Linked DNA regions of Homo sapiens: regions 1 and 2 are each linked to region 3. The links are contacts of gene promoters, found by promoter capture Hi-C in blood cells and fetal thymus (Javierre and others, 2016). All regions are on one chromosome and are shown on one strand. Each heading gives the region's core, a stretch centred on a gene start or on the middle of the fragment in contact. The rest is flanking DNA. Distances are from core to core; before and after follow the strand shown. Region 1 holds the start of CCDC60 (coiled-coil domain containing 60). Region 2 overlaps CCDC60 (coiled-coil domain containing 60). Region 3 holds the start of SRRM4 (serine/arginine repetitive matrix 4).

What was found. The method cuts DNA at HindIII sites, captures the fragments that hold promoters and counts their contacts. A CHiCAGO score of 5 or more calls a contact.
Region 1: a contact is called between the fragment with the promoter of CCDC60 here and the fragment with the promoter of SRRM4 in region 3, in 9 of 17 cell types (M1 macrophages, endothelial precursors, neutrophils and 6 more). The highest score is 14.5, in M1 macrophages.
Region 2: a fragment that was not itself captured here is called in contact with the fragment with the promoter of SRRM4 in region 3 in 1 of 17 cell types (M2 macrophages); the score reaches 5.2 in M2 macrophages.

What each region holds. Positions count from the first base shown.
Region 1 is chr12:119,331,894-119,335,978 of GRCh38, reverse strand. CCDC60 (coiled-coil domain containing 60) reads right to left here and starts at 1,250. Exons shown (of 14, transcript NM_178499.5): 1 at 713-1,250. The coding sequence starts at 802. The HindIII fragment of the contact is 1,172 bases long and covers 1,072-2,243 here.
Region 2 is chr12:119,372,290-119,376,723 of GRCh38, reverse strand. The region is part of intron 1 of CCDC60 (coiled-coil domain containing 60); the gene reads right to left. Among named protein-coding and RNA genes, the nearest start is that of CCDC60, 40 kb to the right of the region's middle. RefSeq lists an enhancer at 819-878. The HindIII fragment of the contact is 2,427 bases long and covers 550-2,976 here.
Region 3 is chr12:118,979,144-118,983,710 of GRCh38, reverse strand. SRRM4 (serine/arginine repetitive matrix 4) reads right to left here and starts at 2,170. Exons shown (of 13, transcript NM_194286.4): 1 at 1,698-2,170. The coding sequence starts at 1,828. The HindIII fragment of the contact is 13,569 bases long and covers 1-4,567 here.

The sequences.
Region 1 (4,085 bases), core at 1-2,500, 350 kb before region 3:
CTGAGAATGATGATTTCCAATTTCATCCATGTCCCTACAAAGGACATGAAAACCATAAAAACCCTAGAAGAAAACCTAGGCAATACCATTCAGGACATAGGCATGGGCAAGGACTTCACGTCTAAAACACCAAAAGCAATGGCAACAAAAGACAAAATTGACAAAAGGGATCTAATTAAACTAAAGAGCTTCTGTACAGCAAAAGAAAGTACCATCAGAGTGAACAGGCAACCTACAAAATGGGAGAAAATTTTCGCAACATACTTATCTGACAAAAAGCTAATATCCAGAATCTACAATGAACTTAAACAAATTTACAAGAAAAAAACAAACAACCCCATCAAAAAGTGGGCAAAGGACATGAACAGACACTTCTCAAAAGAAGACATTTATGCAGCCAAAAAACACATGAAAAAATGCTCATCATCACTGGCCATCAGAGAAATGCAAATCAAAACCACAATGAGATACCATCTCACACCAGTTAGAATGGCAATCATTAAAAAGTCAGGAAACAACAGGTGCTGGAGAGGATGTGGAGAAATAGGAACACTTTTACACTGTTGGTGGGACTGTAAACTAGTTCAACCATTGTGGAAGTCAGTGTGGCGATTCCTCAGGGATCTAGAACTAGAAATACCATTTGACCCAGCTAATTCCTATTTCACTTGTTCTCGAAAACATGATTGGTTTCAGCAGAGGGGAGACTTACCTGCCTTAGGTTCTCCGAGGCATAAAAGGGCCGGACAGCCCCCGAGTTGGGGGAACTCTGAAGCTTCTTGGTGGCTGGAACCTTGGTCATCTTAAAAATCCTTCAGGTTTTAGCCTGTGCCCCCAAGACAAGGATTTTTCCAGAATCTTCTACTTCAGTAGTTACTGGTATGAGAAGTTTCGGCAACTTCTCCCTGATCCCCAAGTCCCAATTACACGAACTCCAAAGCGGTTTCCTTCTGAAGAGTAATGAGAAAGCACCTGGGTCTCCCACAGACGGGATAAGGAAGTCCGGGTAGGGCAGAATCAGGCAAGCCTGGACTTATTTACTTTTTGAAAGGTTATAAACTTCTGTAAGCTTCCTCCTCTTCGGAAGGGATATCTTTCTCTTCTATAAGCAAAATAAAATATGAACTAAAAAATAAATAAAATTCCAGTGACAAAGTGTGAGAGGGGTCCCATGGAGGGGCTCCCAGATCGCCATCCTCCGAGAGCGGCCGAGAACTAAGGCGGCCCCAACGAGGGGTTTATCGCACTGCGGGGAAAGTAGGCAACTGCTAACCCTTGGGCCGGGTGGGGGTGGGGGGAACCCAGTTGCTTGGCAACGGGACGCCGAGGAGGGCTTCCTCATTGGCTGGAATTCGTGGGGGCGGGGTCATGGGGGTCGTGAACTCTCCCAGGTTGCTGGGACGCCGGCTCAGAGCAGCCGGCTGCCACCGGAGCTGCATTCTCTAAACAAATTGGTTTCTGTTTTTAGGCCTGAGGACCATACCCTTTCTCTCTGCCTGACTACAAGCGAATCCTTCTTTTCAAACTCTGCTCTGTACTGCTGCTAACCCACTAGTAATTTTTTGTGCCTTGGGGTGGGTGGCCTGTAGTCCTGCAATTCTTAACCTGAGATGCCTATTTCTCCCGTTTTTCCACCTGACAAACTCCTGCTCATCCTTCAAAGCCCTTCATTTCATAAAATGAAATATTGTTATTCCATTTATTTAGCAAAGATTTATTGACTCTGCTAAAATAAAATATAATAAAGTAAAAATGAAATTAAAAAAAATGAGACCTTCAGGACTTCACGATCTATAGTGTGTATGTTTGGGATGGGGAGCAAAAGATAAGAAACATTGTTATAAGGCAGGATGATTTATGATGTGCTGGGAAAGTATCATAGGGTATTGTGGGAGCAAAGAAAAGGGACAGCTGTATATAGATATAGATATATGCACACACATACATATACACATATATGAATATACATATGTAGACATGTATATATGTGTGTATATACGTATTTGTGTGTGTGGGCATGTATGCATATGACATTTATTGAGTGCTTAGGATGTGCTAGACACTGTTCTAAGTGTCACATACTGACTCAATCCATACAGCACCTCTTTAAAGAAGGTGTTTTATTACCCCATTGTACAGCCTAAGCAACTGAAGCACAGAGACATTAAATGACAAGTTTAAAGTCACGCATGTGCTGCAGCTGAAATTCAAAGCCAGAACTGTTTGAGTCTAAAGAGCAAGCTTTTAACCACTTAGATGCCTAACTTTGCTGAGTTTGGCTTCTATGTCTTTAAAATGGGGATACTATCTTTGCCACAGGTTGTTAAGAATTGAAGTGGATGATGCATATGAAGGCTGAGCCCATGGGGAGTCCTAGCTAAGTGGTACTATTATTATTCCCTGACATCACTTCCCGAGGAAGAATCAGGCATTCTCACTGTGCTGGGTTCATTTCACAGCAGATGTTAGTACTAACTGATATTTATTGATCACTTGCTCTGTGCTAGGTACTGTACTAAGCACTTCGCATACATTAATTCATTTAATCCTTCCAATAACCCTACGGGGTAGGTTCCCAGCCTGCAGCAGATTTATTTCGTATGTTTGGATTTGAATGCCTTATCCTTGGCATTGTTTCACACTGGATCGATCTGATTCCTGTTTTATCCAACAACCTTGAGCTGCTGGGGATTATGATATCATTATGGCTGCATCTTCTCTCTTTCTTTCTTTCTTTTTCTTTTTCTTTTTTTTTGAGGCAGAGTCTTGCTGTGTTGCCCAGGCTGGAGTGCAGTGGCGTGATCTCGGCTCACTGCAACCTCCGCCTCCCGGGTTCAAGCGATTCTCCTGCATCAGCCTTCTGAGTAGCTGGGATTACAGGGGCATGCCACCAGGCAGGCCAGGCTAATTTTTGTATTTTTAGTAGAGACGGGGTTTCACCATGTTGGCCAGGCTGGTCTCAAACTCCTGAACTCAAGTTATCTGCTGGGATTACAGGTGTGAGCCATGGCGCCCAGCTCATCTTCTCTTTAGAAGGCATCTACTGCAAGATGACACTCTACAGAATGCAAAATACCTAGCCAAGTAACTCTAGATGCTGGTGCCTGAAAGTCATTATTTTCTCACCATTGCCTAAAGACTGACCCTGACCTTCCCTTTCACAGGAAGTTTTGGTTCTCCGGCTTCTTTTGTGGGCAGCATTAAGCAATCGGCAGACACTTTCAGAATGAAGCAGATAAAGGGAATCATGTTTGGGAGATAGGGCTGGGGATGAGGGGATGAGGGGATGAGAAAACAAGGCAGGATGGGAAATGTTCAGCCCTGAGCAGAACAGACAAAAGCTGTCTTCATATGATTTTGTAGAACAGGCTTGGCAAAGAGGAACTCAACTAGTTCTGTATTAGCTCAAAGAATAGGAGGAGGTTTGGGCTCAATAGGAAGAAATGTGTACACAGCAGAACATAATTTTAAAAGGTGTGACCTCTGGAATCCAACTGAATTAGCCACTGAGCAGCTTCAATGATAATTCTCATAGGACTGTGATGAAAACCAAATGGGATAACTCATGCAAAGCACAATGCCTAGCACGGAGGAAGTGCTCAATAAATATTAGCCCTTATTTCCTTTGTTGTTTTTATAATACTCACCTGTCAGAGCCATGTAAGAACTGGAAATAGGAAGGGCTCTAGAACTGAAAAGACATGCGTTCAATTCCTGGCTCTGCCATTTGTTACCAATAAGACCTGGGTCAAGTTCACTTCTCCAAGCCTCAATTTTTCACGTGTATAAAACTCATGTGTAGTGAATGGTTATGCCAATTTTATACCTGCTACCAGGATGATGAAGCAAAATAACGAATTTCCCTTCTCTGTCTAGGAAGGGGTATATTCTTTAGAGAGGGAACAAACTACCCAGCACTAGAGGTGTTCAACTAAATGCCATATGGCTTCTTGGATTTTTGATCACTTGGGGGTGTCAGACTACATGATATTTAAGGCTCTTTCCAAACCGATATTGAGAGACTATATGGAGTACTAGTTGAGCTGGTGTCTAAATCCCAACTCAGCCATTTACCAGCTGTGTGA
Region 2 (4,434 bases), core at 514-3,013, 390 kb before region 3:
GTTTGGGAATGAACCAGACGAAGCCAGCATCCTGAGATTACCACTGTGTACTTAGGACCATCCCCTGAGTTTTATTTTATTTTATTTTATTTTTTTGAGACAAAGTCTTACTCTGTTGCCCAGCCTGGAGTGCTGTGACTCAATTCTGGCTCACTGCAAGCTTCATTTCCTAGGTTCAAGCGATCCTCCCACCTCAGCTTCCCAAGTAGCTGGGACTACAGGTGCGTGCCACCATGCCTGACAAATTTTTGTATTTTTTGTAGAGACGGGGTTTCACCATGTTTCCCAGGCTGGTTTCAAACTCCTGGACTCAAGCGATCTGCCCGCCTCAGCTTCCCAAAGTGCTGCGATTACAGGCATGAGCCACTGCCCTCGGCCCTGTTTCTTCATTCTGGTTAATTGGAGACCTGCAGGTATTCCTGGAAAGATAGGACAGGAGGGATCAAAGTGATCAAGGATGAGCCTTGTAGTGTAAGGCAGTTTTTGGCAAACCCCAATCTTCAGCTCAGAGAGGGTTGCCTCTGCTGTTCCAATTGAGTGGGCTAAGCTTCACTGGGGTATTAGCAAGTGCGTTTTTCTGAAGGTGGCCATGCTTTCTTTGTTATTAATGAAATACAAGAAGAAAACGTGTCCAACACACAAATCCAGATGGGCGTGGGTGTGTGGGCTCTCTTCCAACAGCCACATTTCTTGGTATAATGTGACCTTTCTGTCTGATTACCACTCTGCTCTTTTCACCAGAGGAAAGTCAGGAGAGGAGGTCTTTTAAAGAGACAACGGGCAAGTTGATTAGGTGGCTCCACGTTTGTCAGACTTTATACTAAGAGCTTCAAGGGAGGGGCTGGTTGTTGCAGGAAGAAGCTGAGGACTTGATTCATTTCGAAAACTGTCCCCAGGGCCTTCTGGCTCACCCACTTCCCCACATTGCATCCTGCATGCATCAGAAACACATGAAATTTTCATGACATCCAAGCCACTTCCCTCCACGGCTCTATTTCTGTTCATTCTGCTGAAAACTGTCTTTGTCATATACAGGGAGCAGTTTAGGTGGACGAAGGACTCTGGTCTCTCAGTCCCTGACTCCACACCCCATTATTTTGATTGATTAAGTAAAACACAGCCATCAGTGAGCTATTCATAGAGAGACAGTTGGGGGGAGGGGCTCATGGACACATTTTATTTGTATGGGGACATTCTCTGATGGGTCAGTAGGTAGGGTGGAGGGATGTGGCCCAGCAAAGACAGCTCAGGGGGATCTTTCAAGTCCAGTGCGGAGAAAGCAATGGTGTACTAGCTGGTGAGGGTGATTGCATGAGAGCTGATTGTATGCATCTGCTTCCCAATTCTTTGTTCAGTGATCGATAGCTTGAAATTGGCCACAGTGGGAATATTTACACCATGGAAACTGGCAAACAAACATTGCAAATTAGGGTTTTTTGCTTGCTTGTTTGTTTTTTCCAGAAAGCTGGTTGTTAAACATTTACCAGCACATCAATGGGGCAAAAGTTTCTGTCCATATGGATACATTCTTAAGACACGTTGTCCCTAAACCCCACTGTCAGAGGCGCTGGAAACAGAGCAACTCTATTTTGAATAGGGACTGGGTAAAATGAGGCTGAGACCAACTGGGCTGCATTCCCAGGAGGCTAGGCATTCCTAGTCACAGAAAGATAGGCGGTTGGCAGGACTGGTATCACAAGATATGGGTCACAAAGACCCTGCCGATAATACAGTATGCGGTAAGGAAGCCAGCCAAAACCCACCAAAACCAAGATGGCAATGACAGTAACCTCTAGTCGTCCTCACTGCTCATAATTTTAATGCATTATGCTAAAAGACACTCCCACCAGCGCCAGGACAGTTTACAAATGCCAAGGCAACAACCAGAAATGACCCTTATATGGTCTAAAAGGAGGAGGAACCCTCAGTTCTGGGAATTGCCTGCCCCTTTCCCAGAAAACTCATGAAAAACCCACCCCTTGTTTAGCATATAATCAAGAACTAACTATAAATACACTCAGTTAAGCAGCCCATGCCACTGCTCTGCCTATGGAGTAGCCATTCTTTTGTTTCTTTACTTCTCTAATAAACTTGGTTTCACTTTACTCTATGGACTTGCCCCGTATTCTTTCTTATGTGCGGTCCAAGAATCCTCTCTTGGGGTCTCGATCAAGACCCCTTTCCAGGAACACCACCACCCCTCTATAGCATCTCTCATCATACCCTTTCCCGTCCAGATTGCAACTATCTATGTATTTGTCTTTATTATTTCTATAAGGTTTCCTTTCCTAGCTTCATACTTACTACCTCTGAAGTTGAGCAAGTCAGTTAACTTCTCTGTGCTTTAGTTTTCTCATCTTTAAAAAGGAGGAGAGTAATAGCATTGACCCTTATAGGTAATTTCTTCATGGCTGCCATGGATGAGTGGTGTAATACATTATATTTAATATTTTAATCTATTTAATCCTCACAATAACCCAGTGACAAAGGTATTATTATCCATCTAAGGACGAGAAGGCCCTCAGATCTTAAGTCTCTAGATGAAAGTCTAACAGCCATTAAGTGGCAGAGCTGGGATTAGAACCCAGAGCTTTTGGAATTTCAAAGTCTGTGTACCTAACCAGCACAGAAAACTGCCTCTTCAGCATAGGTTTTCTCCCTCTGGCAAGTTGGCTTCCTACTACTCAGCCCCTGGGCAAGAGCTGGTGTTCTGTCAGGAGCAGAAAAAAAAAAAAAGATAAAGTTCTCTTCATTTCCTTCAAAGAAACCTTTCTTGCCTCAAAGAGAGAGTGAGAAAGGAATTGGCTCAAGTTCATTTGAAATTCCAGGTTCATTATCCATGTACTTAAAGCCTGTCTAGATAACAAATGAAACGTGAAAAATGTAGTCAATCATCCACATGTTTGGTCTCTGCCATGTCAGAAGTGGTGTATTTTAGAAACATCTGGATGGCTAGAAAAGAGGCTAAGCCAAGCTTCCATTAATGAGAACTTGTGGAAATGAAGGGGGACGCCCCCCATCTCATTTTACAGATAAGGGAACTGAGACCCCCCCCCACCCCACCCCGGAGAGAAAGTATCTTGCCTAAGTTTGCACAGATTTTTGGTGGCAAAACTAAAGCATAAACTTTCACCAGTGCAGTTTCAAGTCCACCACGCTGCTCCTCTTTGCTGAAATTGCTCACCACGGTGACAGACATGGTCCTACACTCAGAGGCATGTAGTAAGTGGTTTGGCAGCAAGCTTCTATTGACAGTGCCTCAATTGTGATAAGCAGGGTTGGACTGATGAAAACCCCTATTTGCAAATGAGGAAACTGAGGCTCAGAGAGGTTAAGTAACTGGCTCAGAGTCACATAGCTGCCGGTGGGGTTTAGAGTGATTGGAGCCAGCTTTTCTTTAGGTCAATCAGTGTTCTCTTAAGCACCACCAAAAGAATCACAGATTATTTATTGAGTAAATGCTATGTGCTAGGCATTTTATGACTGTAAGGGAATTGGAGTTATATTCTGAGCTCCCCATTTAGCATCAGGAAGTTGAAGTTGCTCCAGGGTTAGATCCAGGTCAGTCAGCTTGACTGCATTTCAGTACTTTGTAAAGGAGACGCCACCCACTCTGCAGCTTAAACCTGACATTGCCCCCTCCTCCTGATTCCACGTTTTCCAAAATTCAAACTTTCACTTACAATCATCATAATCTATTGTGGTACTCATGCACTGCCACTTTTACTATTAATATTTTTCTTTACAGTAACGTTAAACAAAAAACCTTAAGTATCTACTTTAGTTCTCTCCTAAGCAATAATATCCACGACATTATGCTTTTGAAACGCCTTGTTAGAGTTTTCCTAATGCACTATTGAAATGAACACATCATAAACAAGGAAGAGTGAAAGTGACTGTCCATTTAAAATTACGCTGCATGTCACCATGGCGTGTGTAGCAACCTCTAAGGCCCAGGCATTGTGGCTTGTTTAGTGGGTTATGCAACCATCTCTAGGGCCCAGGTGTTGTGTGAAATCTATGTCATGCCTGCTGATAAGGCGGGGGGACTCAAGCACCGAGATATCTCTCTGAGTGGGGATTCGTAGGTGGAGGCTGAACACTGAAGCATTTTCCAGAAGCAGCTTTGGACTATGGCACTGCCTGACTTCCATAATGTGGGGGATTTTTATGTGTCAATCAAATCTCTGAGATTTTGCCCAGTGATTGTCTCTGTCTTGATTTATGTTACCCTGGGACCCTGGAAGCCACGCTATGGGAGGGTGGTTCCTAGTTACTAGGGTTCTATACATCAGCTCTAAACCTCACAGTCTCTTGAAAGATTGACATTATGCCCCAGTTTTGCAGATGAGAGCTCAGAGAGGCAAAGTGGCACAGCCATTAAGTAGAGAAGCCTAGCTTCAAGCCCAGGCTAGCCTAACTCTTAAAGATCAT
Region 3 (4,567 bases), core at 921-3,420:
AATCAAAACACCACCAAGAATCCGCTTTCCTCTCCCTGCACCCCTAAAATAGATGGAAGACTCTGGACTAAATGCCATACTTCTAGTTTCCTGTGAAATTTCCTCTAGTTCCTTCTACAAGGGCATTTTCTTTGGCCAGTGCAGCACCTGATTAGCCAACAGTAGGTACGTTCCAAAGGTGGAATAGATAGCAGAAACCCAGGAAGATAAAAACCACTGACGTCAAAACTCTATACACAGAACCTCCTTCGGAGCAGAGAAGCATCAGCCTTTAATGGCATTTGGTATTATTGTTCCCCTTCTCCAGCCTGTGTCAGTGGGTGGGTGGGTGTCCCCTCCTTCCCGTCTGCAAACACTGGCTGGTGCTGCTTTAGCTTGAAGCCTGCTACACCCTACTGGCCTGTTGTGATGCTTGGCCACCCATTCCTAAATGGGACACCTATTTCTCTAAAGACCTGTATGATCCTCAATAAGACAGTGAAGAGGAAAACTTCTCCAATCTGGCTTTGATTCTTCAGACATAATTTCCCATACGTCTTCCACCTCACACTCACTGGAAAGTTCAGAATCAGTTGTGCCAGAACAGACGTTCAGTCTGTCCTAAGCACTTTTGCAGACATGTTTTCAATCTGCTCCCTAATGCAGACTGCCAGGATTAATAAATCCTCCAAGTGGTCCCCCTGGTCCACTTCTTTCTTTTCTCCTACTAAACCACTCATCCAACACCAGCAAAAGATGAGTTTTCATACTACCTTGATTTTCCCTGACAGAGAGCACAGCCTTCTTCCCTTCATTCTTAAACTCCTCTAAATTGAATGATTTATGAAAAGAATTGGATTTTTCTCTGTCTTGGAATGCTTCCATTTTCCCCCAACCTCCTCTCCCTCTCACCCCACCTCCTGTTCCCCTGTTTCTTTCATTTCTTCCCTTATTCTTCCTTCCATCAGCACCATGTCTACCACCATCCAAGGATCGGTTCTCATCCCTGAGTTCAAAGCAATCAGATTCTTTTTGGAAAAAAAAAAAAAAAACAAAAAAAAACAAAATAAAACTCTTCCAAGATCATCTTCACGATCTTGGAAGGCTCCTCCCTGACTCCTGAGCTCAGAGTCTTGGTTTTGGATGCTGGAGAGGAGAGAATTCAGCAGCAGCGGCAGCAGCCGCCAGAAAGGCGTGGAGGAGGGTGCTGTTTTGGGTGTATTTGAGGGAACAGCATATGGGCTTTTGTCAAAAATGTTCAAAGCTCGCTAGTTTCCGAGCCGAGGATGGAAATGTGTGCTATCTCTGAACGCTGCTTGAGCTGGCTCAGTTCTCCTTTTCTGGTACAACACCCCCCAAACATCTCAAATCCACCATTCCTTGGCCCACCTGCCCTCTGGACTCTGTGACACCAAGAAAAGTTTTTCAGTCAAGTCGTACCCCATCTGCACCGCCCACCCTCAGGTAGCAAAACCTCTTGAATAGGAGCTACGGGGGTCCAATAAGCGTTGCTTTCCCCCAAAGAATTCCTGTCCCTTCTCACCATCTTCCACCTCACACAAGCAATGAGTTCCCATGTTTCAGCGGGAGCCGCCGAGTAGTGACGGGAAAAGACAGGCGCCCTGGCCCGGCTGCCTGCATCCACCCCTCCGGGCTCTGGGGCACAGGCCAGAAAGGAGGACCTTCAGGATCCCCCCTTCTAAGAAGGAGATCATTACCTTGGCAGCGGCTTGCGGGCCGTGATACTGGCGACAATGATGCTCTCGGGACGGGGGGTGGCCACCGCTTTGAAGGTTCCTCGCCAGAACTTCTCAAAAAGCTGCTTCTCGCCTTGCTGAACGCTCGCCATCGCCAACCCAAAGGGGCCGGGGCGTCCGGGGCGCTGTCCAAAGTGCTGAAACGTGGATTCCAAACGGGGGCGACACCCAGCTCCCGGCTCTGTCCGGGTGAAACCCAGAGAGGGGTGGGGTGGGAGAGATCGGAGTTCAGGGCGGGGGATGGGACGCCCCAGCCCGGGCAGGCAGCAGAGAAAGGAGGCTCGTCCGCTGGGCTTTCTTCGCCCTTCTGGGTCGGCTCCAGGCTGCGCTCTGAGCTGGCTGAGCCTCTGCGCCCCAAGAAGGGAAGGGAGGGCTGGCTTTCTGGGCAGCACCAGGAGAGAAGAGGCGACGGGGTCGGATGTGTGTGCGTGCGCGTGTGAGCTCCGGCGCGCCCGGGTTTTGTCTCTCGCACAATGTGACGTTGGAAGAGGAGGCTGGTCGCGCGAGCTGCACTTTCCTCCCCCCTCTCCGTCTCTCCTCCTCCCCACCAACCCCCTCCTCCTCAGGCTCAGCCTCCTGCCGCCATCTGCATAACAAAAGCCCGCAGGTCTTGGGAGGAGAAAGGGCGGGGCGTGCGCCTGTCACCAGGGCCCCGCGGCGACCGAGTTGCAGCGCTGATCCCTCTGAGAAGCCATCCTGGCACCCCAATCTGCGCCAGGCAGGAGATCCTGCTTCCCAGGCCCCTCTCCTCTCCCATCATCGCTGGCCTTCCTCAGCCCTTTCCTGGGTGCCCCCTTTGGGCCAGGCCACCTTTCTTTCCAGCCCCTTCGCAAGTCTTGTAGCTGATCTTCTGCGTGGGGGGGGGGGGGGGGTTGGGGGGGCTCGTAAAAAACTTAATCTATCCACCCCAGCCGGCCTCCCCCAGACCCTCACTTTTGGGAGACACGGCCTAGGCCGGTACAGAGGGTGCCCTGCGTTCCTCTTTGCGCCGGGGGTTAGCGAGGTCTCCACCACCCAGAAAGTGCCATTTGATAGACAATCCCTCACCAATTCGGCTTCTCGCCATCTGCCGAGCAGGGCCCCCGCCCGCCAAGGGGCGCAGCGTTACATCTGTGCATGCGGAGCTGTCAAGGGTATCTCTTTTGTGTCTCACAGCCGGCCTGCCCAGCGTCCCCGCCGCCAACCCCGTCCAGAGGAAAGAGTTCCCATCTCACCCCACCCCACCCCCATCCACTCCTGGGGAATCCGCCTGCAGCCACTTTTCCTAATGCCGCTAGTCTCGGGAAAGGAGTACGTTTTGGAAAAGAAAGCGCTTAGTGGGAGGGTTGGAGAGGAAAATCTCGAGGATTAGCAGGGGGATAGTTACTTTTCGGTCTCTCCTCCCCATCTCCTTACCGCCTCGCAGTTCAATCGTAATCCCAAGCAAGTGGAGGTTTAGAATCCCAAATCAACCCCAGACACAGAAGATCTGGTTAGAATGACTCTTGTTTTCCCCCAGGGTTTTCATTATAAAAAAAAGAGATCGTGGCGGGACCCCTCAGCCCTTGCCTTCCTGGAAGCCTTTTAATCTTAGCAGAGTTGTTACTCCCCCATCTCCCACCTAACGCCCTCCCCCTCCCCCCAACCCCGCTTCCACTTTCCAGGCTGTAAATTCCTGGAAGGAGGCCTCGCTCAGTCTTAAATGCCTCCAAGCACCTGGTGCTGAGTCCCAGTCACAGCGAGAATAAACTCCTGCTCTTTGCTAAAGCAGATAGCAATGGGGACCCAATGAGGGCGGGGTAGGGCGGGGGGGTCGGGAGAACAATGGGAACTCCAGAAATTCTCTGAAGGGGAACAGGAGGTAACTAGGAGGTGAAGATGAAGAGGCCAACAGAGAGGATAAGATGGGGCAGGAGAAGAAAGAACCTTGGAGTAAATGAGTACCCGCCCCAAAGGGTATCTACGTTTGAAGTGTGTGTGTTCGACACGCCTGCGTCCGCTTATTTGAGTGCCTGAGAGCGCTACTTGCTCTGCAGTGACCCCTTCTGGTCAACAACGAGAGGTGCATTTGCTGGCTTCTTATGTGGGTTGCCGGGGGAGAGGGCCCAGAGGTGGGGGTCAGGCCTGGGAAGGTTGGAGATGGAGCAAAGTGGAGACTAGGCTAACCCCTTCCCTTCCTCTCCCTCTTACCTTGCGCCCCAAATCCCCCATTCCCTGATTGGGCTAGACCCCCGTTTCCCACCCAGAAGTTGGTATCATTGTAAATGCAATCTAGAGCTGGCTTCTTATAGGTAGCAGACTGGCATCTTTAAAACTAACCTTAGTCATGACATTTAGGGTATGAACTGAGTCACTTGCAGGAGAGAGGTAGGTGGGATCCTACCCCCACAAGATCAGTCAACATCTTCCAGTTGTGTGCCTGCTCCTAATCCCTAAAATGTTGATAGAGCTCCCATATGCAAAACATTGCCTTTTTAAAATCCCATCGTAGCCAGATGAGGTGGGAGAGAAAGCTGATCTTATTCTATTTTATTTATTTATCTTATTTCAATAGCTTTAAGGGTGCAAGTGTTTTTTGGTTACATGGATGAATTGTATAGTGATGAAGTCTGGGCTTTTACATACCTGTCACCCGAATAGTACCTTACCCCCAAAAGGCCATTATTAAAAAGTAAAAAAAAAAAATAGATGGTGTAGATGCAGTGAAAAGGGAACAGTTATACACTGTTGGTGTGGATGTAAATTGGTACAACAACTATGGAAAACAGTATGAAGATTTCTCAAAGAACTAAAAGTAGACCTGCTCATTCTTTTATAAAGACACATGCATGTGTATGTTCACTGCAGCACTA